2 separate regions of the Homo sapiens genome follow, and region 1 is linked to region 2. Evidence: promoter capture Hi-C in 16 types of primary human blood cells and fetal thymus (Javierre and others, 2016). All regions are on one chromosome and are shown on one strand. The core of a region is centred on a gene start or on the middle of the fragment in contact, and the rest is flanking DNA. Distances in the headings are between cores, read along the strand shown.

Region 1 (5,748 bases), core at 1,935-4,434, 46 kb before region 2:
GGGTGACTCACCCTCTCTCTATCAGTCTCCTCCTCTGCCAAATGGGAAAAGAGGTTACTGTCACTATCAACAGGATGCTGGAGGGCCTGGAAGAAGCAAAAAGGTGCGCTCCACTCTGCCTGCCAAGAAATGTCACCACGGGGGCTCCCTTCACCCTTTCCTTTCTCACAAGAAAAATGTGCGTCTGAAGCAGTCACACATGCCACAAGTCGGCCTCCTGCTGCCCCTGGACTAGGCAAATCCAGCTTTTCCTATGGCCACACACTTGGGAACAAATACTGACAGAAATGGGAAACAACACAACAGCCACAGAGAAAAGAAGGAAAGGAAGGGAGGGAAGGAGGAGGCGAGCCACCCTCCTTAGAGAAGAGGTTACCGTGCACATTTCTGCCGCCTTAGGCGGAAGCAGTCCAGGGAGCCTCTTTGCCAGTCCTCCAAGGGGAAGGCTAGGCAAGGCCTGTGTCCCTACACCCACTCCCCAGTGGACACCTGCAGGCCAGGCTCCTGACTTACCTTGCTCTGTGGTGGAGGGCCTGGCTTGCTGCTGCTTGGAGGGGCTGTGGCAGCAGTGGACAGGAACATGCTTCGGAATAGCCTGCGCTTCAGGCTGCTCTCCCGGGTCTTAGGGCTAGGGCTGCCTTCCCCACCTGGCCTGCCTGTGGCTGAGCCCACCAGGCAGGACTGTGGCCGGGCCTCCTCAGAGCCATGCTTGGCAGCCTTCATTCCATGCCTATTGGTGCCCGTGGGGGGCGAGGCTCCTGGTGGGGAGCTCTGCAGGCAGGCACCCAGCTGCAGACAGCGCTGCGAGGCACCCTGAAACTCGGCGGGGCCCAGGGACTGTGCCTTTGCAGCCAGCCCATTGGGCAGGACCCGTGGGCTCTGTGGCTCGGGCCACGGCATCTGCTTGTGGCCTGCTGGTGTGCCCCCGTTGCAGCTGAGGTAGAGGCCGTGGGGGTCAGTGCGCTCAGACTGGGGGCTCTGGAGGTACATGTCTGGGTCGGTGGCCCAGTGCTCATCCCCCAGCAGCCCCAGGGACTGTGCCCGCCGCCGGCTGGTGGGGCTGCGGCCACGCAGGGTGTTGGAGCTGATGACTGACAACTTCTGGATGTCGTTGAGCAGCCCCGAGATGTAGCCATCCACAGGCATCGCGCTGCCCCGCACCACTGTCTGTAGGGGGAAGAGAAAAGAGTGTGTGGGAGCTGCCCAATTGTGGCAGGGAGGGGTGGCTGGGAGATCAGGGTCAGAGAATGTCCCTGGGGGCCCTGGGGAGGACCACCTAAGGACCTTCCCTGCTGTGTCATCCACCCATTAATTTTTCCATAATTTATCAGGGCCCACCGTGGGTCCCGCCTGTGCTGGATGCAGGGATGCGGGGAGAAGGCCCAGCGTCAGCAGAGCAGATGGTGAGTGCCATGGGGCTGCATCCAGCATGCCCAGGGGTGTGGTCGGCTGGGCCAGGGAGCTGGAGCTCAGGGGGCGGGGCTCCATTCTCTAGCTCCACGGGTGGCTGGGAGAGATGTGCCCAGCCCTCTGAGGAAGAGACACCAGGCCGGGGGCTCCTCCACACACACTGGCTTCGCAGCCTCCAAACCCTGATAGGGCCCCTGACCCCACCTTCTACCAGGCTCTTGGGTCTACTAGTCGTGACCCTCACAACTAAAATTCTCCTGGTCTGGGAGAGCCCTCAGTCCCTATGGGGCTGCAGGTCCAAATATTGAATGGGACACGTCCTAAAAGACTATTCGTTGTCATCTGAAATACAAATGCAATTGAGCATCTCACATTTTCATGTGCTGAATCTGGCAACCCCACCACCCTGCAGAGAGGGTCTCCCCAGCCTCCTTCGCCCTGGCTTACCCAGGGAGAGAATGGCAGGCTGACAGGCAGGGAGTTAAAACAGCTGATTAACTGATAGCTGTGAAGTAGGTGGTTCCTCCAGGGGCCTTTCTGAGGTTTAGCCAGGCATGGTTGTCTGAGTACTGGGAGAGGCTGAACCTCATCCCTGCCGGCCCCTCTTACCTTCATGGGCTGGAGCTGCACCCGTGTGATTCGCGAAGGGTCCACCACGGGCTTGGGGCGCCGCAGTGTGTCCAGGATGTTCTGCCATTGTGGGGGGAGGCCCACAAACTTGCCTTCTTTGGGGTCGAAGGAGGTGTGGACACGGTGCTGGAAGTTCTGTGGCGCTGAGATCTCAGGGCGTTTCTTCTTTTTCTTGCGGAACATGGTGCCTGTAAGTGCAGAGTAAGGTTGAGCTCCCTCCCGGGAAAGAGGGGTGGCTGCAGCAGGGCCTGGGGCACCAGGTTCAGGGCTCCCTCCCCTCCCCCAGCACAGCTCCCCTAGAAGCCTAGGGCTTCCCTCCACCTCCATCTCTGCTTCCTCAGGGAAATGGCTGGCTCCCAGCAGAACAGTCCCAGAAACAACAAACGTGCCATAAATAAGCCAGTGCAGACTATAAACAAGGAAAAGAGGTGTCTTCTTGCCTGTGCCAAGTCCCCTATGGAGCAGGCAGACTCTGGGGGTGTGTTTTTATAAAATCCAAAGCCCATTACAAGTATCATTCCACTGTCTGTCAACGAATTTTAAAAATGGGGAAAGAGGGAGGAAAGTTAGCAAGCTTGTTTTATGAAACGAGTATGACCTTGATTCTTAAAACCAGATAAGGAGAGTGCAAGAAAAGGAAAATTTGACTCAATATCATTTAGGAACGTAACTATGAAAATCTTAAAACTATCGAATTGAATCCAACAGTATATTAAAGTTATTTTTTTGTTGGCTTTTTTTTTTTATTACAACTCAGCTTTGTCCCAGGATGGTTGAACCTGTTAATATGATACGTTAATAAAAAGCCAACCAGCTGATCACAGACATGCTGCCCGGTGTGGGACTATTATGTATCAGGGAGCCCCCAAAGGGCCTTCATGGTTACCATGTGCTTTACCTCAATTCCAGAAAGGCCCTGAGCCAAGAGGATAGCCTGGGGTGGGTGAGGGGCAGCTAACTTAGGGGTAAAGCTCTCCAGAGAAGGCAGAGAGCACCACCTCCCCTTGACACTCTTCTCTCTGGTATTGGAGCTCTATGTAAAACATCACCTGGGCCGGGCATGGTGGTTCATGCCTGTAATCCTAGTACTCTGGGAGGCCGAGGCGGGTGGATCACCTGAGGTCAGGAGTTTGAGACCAGCTTGGCCAACATGGTGAAAACCTGTCTTGACTAAAAATACAAAGAAATTAGCCGGGCCTGGTGGCACGTGCCTGTAGTCCCGGATACCCATGGGGTTGAGGGAGGAGAATCGCTTGAACCCAGGAGGCTGAGGCTGCAGTGAGCTGAGATTGCCCCACTGCACTCCAGCCTGGGCAACAGAATGAGACTCTGTCTCAAAAAACAAACAATAAAACACTTAACCTGCAATCAAGCCTGTGTCCCGTGCCTTGCTGATTCTGGCTTTGCCTAAGGTCGTGCTGAGCTGCATACACAGAAGTGACACAGGCTTGCAATGGATAGCATGGGTAGATCTGAGAGTGGGGAACTGGGGGCCTGGGAAGGGGAGGGACACTTCCAAAGGGTTGCTCTAGTTTCGCCTTCAGGGGATCCCGGACCTGGGATCACATGTTGATGGCAGACAGGGCCAGGGCTGCCTCTTGAATGCTTTTGGATCTGAAGAGGCTCAGAACAGCTCACTGGGTTCTTATGTATCTGAAAAGGTCACTTCCAGGCTTCAAGAAACTGAAACATGATTCTTGAACTGAAAGCTTGGATTACTCATCCGCCCGAAGATCTGGAGTGCAGGGCCGTCATGTTCTCTTTTGGCTCTTGCTATGGAAACAGCATTTTCCTAGTCATTTTGGCAGGTTCTGAAGGAGGTCGCAGATCTGGGAGGCAGCTGGCAGAAAGGCAGGGACCCTGGACAGCCAGTGGTTCCCCACTAGGAATTCACCATGCGTGACTCAATCAGAGCCCACGTCACATCTCAATGTCAGCCATGCTTCTGGGTCTTGAGGTTCGGGATCCACCGAACACCCCCTAGAGGTAGAGCCACATGTACAGGACCCTTACAGACCAAGCCCTTTGGAATAAAACAACCTGTGTGAGTTGCAGATGAGTTGTAGGGAGTCTCCCACTAATAATTTGGAGAGATTTTGAACAAATAACTGAAATGATCTGAGCCAGGGGGGTTAATGAAAGACAGCTCATAGGGTTTAGGGTGTGTGAAGTAAGCAGAGTCCCCATACATGACGGTTGTTTCTCTTGTGATGTCACCTCTCTTTGAATCCCTGTCTTGAAGCTCAGGCCCTCCAGACACTGGCACTTGGGCAGATACAAGTCTGGGAGTAACACCAAACCACTTTCTGCTCAGACTTACCAGTCAAAGGGGTCATGCCTGATGTCAGGGGTCTGGGACCTGGGGACCTCGCCATATATACATCATGGTTTGGTAAAATTTGTCCTCCTCCTTTTGGCCTTTGCCTTTTTTGTTGTTGTTTGTTGTTGTTGTTGTTGTTTTTGAGAAGGAGTCTTGCCGCCCTGTCGCCCAGACTGGAGTGTAGTGGCACCATCTGGGCTCACTGCAACCTCCACCTCCCGGGTTCAAGTGATTCTCTTGCCTCAGCCTCCTGAATAGCTGAGATTACAGGCACCCACCAACATACCCGGCTAATTTTTGTATTTTTAGTAGAGACGGGATTTCACCATGTTGGCCAGGCTGGTCTCGAACTTCTGACTTCAAATGATCCACCTGCCTTGGTCTCCCAAAGTGCTGGGATTACAGCCTTTGCCTTTTGCTACAGAAGAGTCTTTATTCAGCAGGTCTATTCCCCCAGTCCCTTGGATAGACCTGCTATCCCTGGATTAGTTGAGCTGCCTGTTTCGCCCTCCTCCCTAGCTCTGTGAAATCTTCTGGAGGTGCAGGGACACAGACTGCAGCTGAAGAAGAGCTGGTGAATCCGCCCCCCACCACCCACCCCAGAACAGCCCTCTCCCCAACTCCCCTGCCCCACCCAAGCGCTCAGCTTTTGCTGTGGGGATGCACAGGGAGAGCATCTTTAGCAAATGGTCTCTGACTCTGGGAGCCTCTCTTGAGTCCATTCTAATAGTGAGCCATTCCGGAACAAGTTCTTCCCAGAGGCAGCAGGGAGGCTGGAGAAGAAAGAAGGACAGCCCAGAGGGTGTCCCAGGGCCAGGAGTGGTGATGGTGAGGGTGGGAGTTGGCAGAAGCAATCAGCTGAGCTCAGGCTTTGGGGGCTAGGGAGTAGAGCTTTAGAAACCAGAGGCCATCACTTAGGTCTGGAAAATCAACCAATCAACCACCTAAAGGGAGGCAGCTAGGACTCATCTGAAATGTGGTGAGGCCAACACTGTGTGGGACAACATAACTGTGTAAGTAGAAAATGCGGGAGAATCTACATAAAACTGGGATTAAGGGAGTGAATTTAGAAGGTCCCTGATTCAAGGTCAATATATATATATATATTTTTTGAGATGGAGTCTCGCTGTCTTGCCCGGGCTGGAGTGCAGTGGTGTGATCTCAGCTCACTGCAATCTCTGCCTCCCGGGTTCAAGTGATTCTCCTGCCTTAGCCTACTGAGTAGCTGGGACTACAGGCGCACGCCATCACGCCCAGCTAATTTTTGTATTTTTAGTAGAGATGGGGTTTCACCATGTTGGCCAGGATGGTCTCGATCTCTTGACTTCATGATCCACCCGCCTCAGCCTCCCAAAGTGCTGGGATTACAGGCATGAGCCACCGTGCCC
Region 2 (5,966 bases), core at 1,361-3,860:
ACCCCACTTGTTTCTGCTTGTGTTAGCCAGACCTGCCTGGACCATAGCCAAGTGGACATGCCTATATCCATCCTATATGTCTTACATTGTATTTCAAGCCTATTTTTAAAAGTTCATGTAAGAGACAACACTGGCCAAGTTCTGAATTAAATGAAGAGAAAAGTACAATTCAATTATTCAAAGATGAAAATAGAGAAGGGGCATTAAATCTTCAACACTCATTTTTTTTTTTAACCAAAGAATATAACAATAGGTGACAGGCTGGGAACTTATTTGCTAAGATAAGCTAAAGTGGAACGTAGATACTTAGTTTTTTTTGAGACGGAGTCTCACTCTGTTGCCCTGGGTGGAGTGCAGTGGCGCGATCTCAGCTCACTGCAACCTCTGCCTCCCAGGTTCAAGTGATTCCCGTGCCTCAGCTTCCCAAGTAGCTAGGATTACAGGCATGTGCCACCACACCCAGCTAATTTTCTTGTATTTTGAGTAGAGACAAGGTTTCGCCATGTTGCCCAGGCTGCTCTCAAACTCCTGACCTCAGGTAATCTGCCTCGGCCTCCCAAAGTGCTGTGATTACAGGTGTGAGCCACCATGCCCGGCTGACTTAGTAAGTTTTATGAGCAGGCTTGAGGGAGTACTAAGGTTCTGAGACCAAGCAGTGCTTATTAAGAGACCACTTACTTCTTCTCCAGGAGAGTCAGTTATCTGGTTTGGTTCTATCCACTTATTAAATAAAAAATAGCCTAAAATTAGCATATAGTTTAGAAATGTAAGTCTTTTCAAAGGATGCTTATTAACTTTTGGTAATAATTGCTATTAAAAAGGAATTTAGGCCAGACACGGTGGCTCACACCTGTAATCCTAGCACTTTGGGAGGCCGAGGCGGGCGGATCACAAGGTCAGGAGTTCGAGATCAGCCTGGCCAACGTAGTGAAACCGCATCTCTACTAAAAATACAAAAATGAGCCAGGCATGGTGGCGCACGCCTGTAATCCCAGCTACTCAGGAGGCTGAAGCAGGAGAATCACTTGAACCTGGGAGGCAGAGGTTGCAGTGAGCCGAGATCATGCCACTGCACTCCAGCCTGGGCAACAGAGCGAGACTCCGTCTCAAAAAATAAATAAATAAAGAAAAAGGAATTTAAGGCTAACACCAATTAGTTAGAAAATTATTCTCATGAAATGCTTCTTTTCACATATCTAAACAGGGAAGCTTCCATACTATAGCTGTAGTCTGGAAGATACAGCTAGATTCAGAATGATGTCCTGAAGTCTGAATAGTTTTGAATCTTATTTTTAGTAAGCAGTTCCTTTTTCCTGCACTAGCTGCTCTGCTGATACTCTAATGAAAACTGGCTGAAACTACTGGAACCATGGCATTTGGATTAAAAAACTAAGGCTGCCAAAGCAGAGATAGCACCCAAGAGAAACAGAAAATTATTGGGACAGGCAGAGACCCTGACATTCATCAATACTTACTCAGAAATATTTTGGCTAAGTTTCCAGAAGGACCCATCCCAGAAGACCTGTAGGTGTTCCTTGAACAATAGTAAATGTGCTAAATCTGCTATACCAAACAGGTCTACCTGAAATCACAAAAAGCACCATCAGCTAAAATAATTCTCTGCCTCTACCATGGCAGCTTATTTCGGTAGGAAGTTGAAAGGTATTACAGTGCTTAACTAAGTTTATTTTATGACATACATTTTAGTAGACTGTTCCTCACCCTTACAGTAAAGGGAGAAGCTCTCCAAAGAAGTGATCAATAGAGCCAATTCTAGGAATTATCCTTAAGAACAAAAGATGAAATATTTGGACTATCACATTCAAATTTGTAGACCTACTGAGTTTGCATGAACTCCAGCTGTGATCTAAATGGGGTCCACATGATTAGTTCAGGTTTGTGCTACATATTCAATCAGCAAATGTCTTATGTCTAAAGCTGAGTTAGAAGGAATTTCTGCATATAATGCCACCATACAAAAGACTTTACATTTGTGCTAATGTTCTTTTTATATACATTACTTCATTTACTCCTCATAACAATTCTGATAAACACATAGCAGAGACTGTTATCCCTATTTTACAGAGAAGATCACAGAAAATGACTTATAAAAGATTACATGGGTGGTAGGCAGTAGGAGTGGCCCTGGCACTCGGTTACAGAGTTAGTCATGTGTTTGCACATGTATGTGTATATTCTTCAATGCTGTAACACAAAAATGTTACATTTTACTTGACTTGGTGATATTTGAAAACTAGGTCATCTATTCTAGGAGTCGGTATCAGTAAACAGTAGCTTTTATAGCTTATCTAGATAATAAAGAGATTAAGAAACCCTCTCCATATTTGCTCAGGCTTGTTTTACACTTACCTGGTAGGGAGAAGAACAGTTAGCCAGGATCTTTTGTCCTTCCAGGATCTGTACAGTCCGAAAGCCGCTGAGGGTAAAAACATCCAGCTGCACCCTAAGGTCAACACTGTAGGAAAAGTCCACTATCTTCAAAGCTTGATTGTTCTTGTTACAATCATAGGGATCGTGGATTCTGAGCCCAGATTTAAGAGAAGGAGATAATAAAAATAGGCCATGAAAGAAGCTGCATAGCTGGTCTTTAAAAAAAAAAGGTACCTTGGGTACATCTTAGCTATGCCAACAACTCCCTCCAGTGGTTAATTTTGAAAATGCACCTGTAAGACAGAGCAGTGGCAGTGTCCACCCAATGCGGAAGGAATGTCACCACTTTGGTGACACAAAGTATATTTCAATCACGGTGCATGGCCACCATTAAACATTTATCAAGCTTCCATATTATATAAAGTAAGTATGGAAGCAGAGCACAGGCTTCTTCCCTGTACTGTACACATTAACACATACAATTGCAATGATTTATACACTGACAGGAATTATGATGGAGGAAATTAAAATTTTATAGGTGTCATAGCCTTTCTTGTTTACTATTCCAGATAGGCTTTCCAAGTATTGTTTAGATTCTTCCTTCCAGAGTTTAATGGAAAACAATGCAAGTCTGTTTTATAAAGTCCTATCTGTATTGTAAAATTTCTTGTAAAACACCATATTTTATCTTACTCTTACTTGTAATTCCAGTTATTTACTAAAAAAATCTTTATAATACTAATTAATTATCAATTAATTTTGTTTTCCTTGGGTTTATCTATCCTATGCAATAATGCTATTCTCCAAGGGGACATAGGAACTGTTTATAAATGAAAAGAGTGGGTTTTCATGTGTTCCTTTTGTCTGTTTTTCTCAATTAATTCCCTCAAACTCCTGATATTGGTGCAATATTCCTAAATACAGTCTTTAACTACTCCAATTACATACCTCCACGGCACAGAATGATCTATGTATTTTACTTTAAAATTGATAATTGCTCTCATTTTTCCTTGGCACAAGAGCCAACCTTTTTTGGCCACCATAAAACTATACTATAATTAAAAAAAAAAAAAAATATATATATATATATATATATATAGTATATATATAGTTATAGGGATCGTGGATTCTGATATATATAAAATATACATATGTATTTTATATATATATGTAAAGTGTGTGCATGTGTGTGTTTTGTTTGGTTTCTTAGACAAGGTCTACACTCTTGTCACTGAGGCTGGAGTACAGTGGTGCGATCTCAGCTCAGTGCAGTCTCTGCCTCCTAGGTTCAAGCGATCCTCCCATCTCAGCCTCCCGAGTAGCTGGGACTACTGGTGTGTGCCACCATGCCTGGCTAATTTCTTAATTTTTTGTAGAGATGAGGTCTCATTATATTGCCCAGACTGGTCTTGAACTCCTAGGCTCAAGTGATCCTCTGCCTTGGTCTCCCAAAGTGCTGGGATTACAGATGTGAGTCACCATGCCCAGTGTAATTGTAAAATATTTATATAACTTTGGAGGCATAGGGAAAAAATGTCTCATAGATTAATAAAAAGAAGCATGCATGAAGGTGTCCTAGCCCTCTAATCAGCTACTCACTCACTGTTACTTTGGGTAGGACATTCCATTTTTTTGGATCTCATTTTCCTCACAAAAAATATGCAGAAACTAAAGTAAGCAACTAAACTAAGCAATTTCAAAAGGTTCTTTCTGGCTTTTATTTTATTTTTGTAGAGACAGGGTCTTGCTATGTTGACCAGGCTGGTCTTGAACTCCTGGCCTCAAGAGATCCTCCTGCCTCTGCCTCCCAAAGTGCTGGGATTGCAGATGTGAACCACTGCATCCAGCCCTTTCTGGCTTTTGTTGTTGTTTTGTTTTGAGATGGAGTCTCGCTCTGTCACCCAGGCTGGAGTGCAGTGGCATGATCTTGGCTCACTGCAAGCTCTGCCTCCCGGGTTCACGCCATTCTCCTGCCTCAGCCTCCTGAGTAGCTGGGACTACAGGCACCTGCCACCACGGCTGGCTATCTTGTTGTATTTTTAGTAGAGACAGGGTTTCACTGTGTTAGCCAGGATGGTCTTGATCTCCTGACCTCGTGATCCGCCCGCCTCGGCCTCCCAAAATGCTGGGATTACAGGCGTGAGCTACTGCGCCCGGCCTCTGGCTTTTTTTTTGAGACAGAATTTTGCTCTTGTTGCCCAGACTGGAGTACAATGGTGCGATCTCAGTTCACCACAACCTCTGCCTCCTGAGTTCAAGCAATTCTCCTTCCTCAGCCTCCCAAGTAGCTGGGATTACAGGCATGCACCACCATACCTGGCTAATTTTGTATTTTTAGTAGGATGGGGTTTCTCCATGTTGGTCAGGCTGGTCTTGAACTCCCAACCTCAGGTGATCTGCCCGCCTCAGCCTCCAAAAGTGCTGGGATTGATTATAGGCATGAGCCACTGTGCTCGGCCCCTTTCTGGCTTTTAATTCCTTATGAATCTATGTGAAATTTCTGATTAAATTTGATAAGCAGTGACAAAGTAAAAAGCAATGCCTCTTTAATACTATGGACTTTCCTAGAGCCTCTAGTGGCTGAGAGAAGGGTTATCGTACTTCATTAGACCACAAATGGCCAATTCTAAAAGGCTTAGAAAAAACCTCTGCTTCCAATTTCCATAGCCCTGGGAATTTCAGCACTGTCATTTTAATGTTAAGTAGAGTGAAAATATACCAGGGGTTCTCATACTTGGAAATTTGGGGGGATTTTTGGTGGTCACAACGGCTTAGGGGATTGTTACTTGCACTTAATTGGGTGGGTGGGGGGGAATAGGAATATAAAACATCCTGCATTGCTTGGAACACACCTGCACAAAGAATTGTCTCACCCAAAATACCTATGGTGCCCTGGATGAGAAATGCTGCTACATTATGTCTGGGAAAGCCTTTGACTCTGCTATCTCAGGGGAGAAGGTGGGATTCTCTGGTTCTTTTGGTTACAATCACAGGAACACATTGAGGGTTCTTTTAATTTCCACGTTAACTATAATTTAGAGTCTAATTCAATCTCTTCTGATAGATTAAGTATTCAGAAGAAATGTAAAGAGTAAGTCCAGCTATTAGTGTATACCAGTGGCCTCAGAAACAAAGTTAACACCTCACCCAAGACACAGGGTTGGGCAGACACAGCATCTTTAAACCAGGCTGCTTTTACTCAAATACTATAACACCAATGATCACTAAAAGAATATAGTAGTCCTCTAGTACTTTTCACAAAGCAAAAATGTTGGACTGTTTTTGCCTAGTTAATGCCTGAACGTGATCTATATTTTCTCAGTCCTTAGTATTCATTTATTATTTCCTGCTCTGTGCTCACCCCTTGAACCTGATGGACACACTGGGTTTAATTTGAACACTAAACCCCATTCCTTGGCATAGTTTGTATTTGAACTCTGGTTTTACCCACTTCTCTTGGCTAACAGGTCAGTTAGGCCTGACTTAAGCTTTGGTCTATGAAACTGAGTAGTGCCTTGATTTTGCTGGCATCCTCGCTAGAGTGGCACTGGTCCCACTCAAAGAATGACTAAACA

Evidence for each region. The method cuts DNA at HindIII sites, captures the fragments that hold promoters and counts their contacts. A CHiCAGO score of 5 or more calls a contact.
Region 1: a fragment that was not itself captured here is called in contact with the fragment with the promoter of BUB1B-PAK6 in region 2 in 10 of 17 cell types (M0 macrophages, M1 macrophages, M2 macrophages and 7 more); the score reaches 15.3 in M0 macrophages.

Annotation. Positions count from the first base shown.
Region 1 is chr15:40,261,261-40,267,008 of GRCh38, reverse strand. It overlaps BUB1B-PAK6 (BUB1B-PAK6 readthrough), which reads right to left. Exons shown (of 10, transcript NM_001128629.3): 3 at 2,020-2,228; 4 at 514-1,167. The coding sequence starts at 2,223. It overlaps PAK6 (p21 (RAC1) activated kinase 6), which reads right to left. Exons shown (of 11, transcript NM_001395430.1): 4 at 2,020-2,228; 5 at 514-1,167. The coding sequence starts at 2,223. Among named protein-coding and RNA genes, the nearest start is that of PAK6-AS1, 11 kb to the right of the region's middle. The HindIII fragment of the contact is 1,135 bases long and covers 2,617-3,751 here.
Region 2 is chr15:40,214,072-40,220,037 of GRCh38, reverse strand. BUB1B-PAK6 (BUB1B-PAK6 readthrough) reads right to left here and starts at 2,610. Exons shown (of 10, transcript NM_001128629.3): 1 at 2,371-2,610. It overlaps BUB1B (BUB1 mitotic checkpoint serine/threonine kinase B), which reads right to left. Exons shown (of 23, transcript NM_001211.6): 21 at 2,371-2,542; 22 at 1,476-1,582. All of the region lies in intron 1 of LOC107984763 (a long non-coding RNA gene), which reads left to right. The HindIII fragment of the contact is 293 bases long and covers 2,507-2,799 here.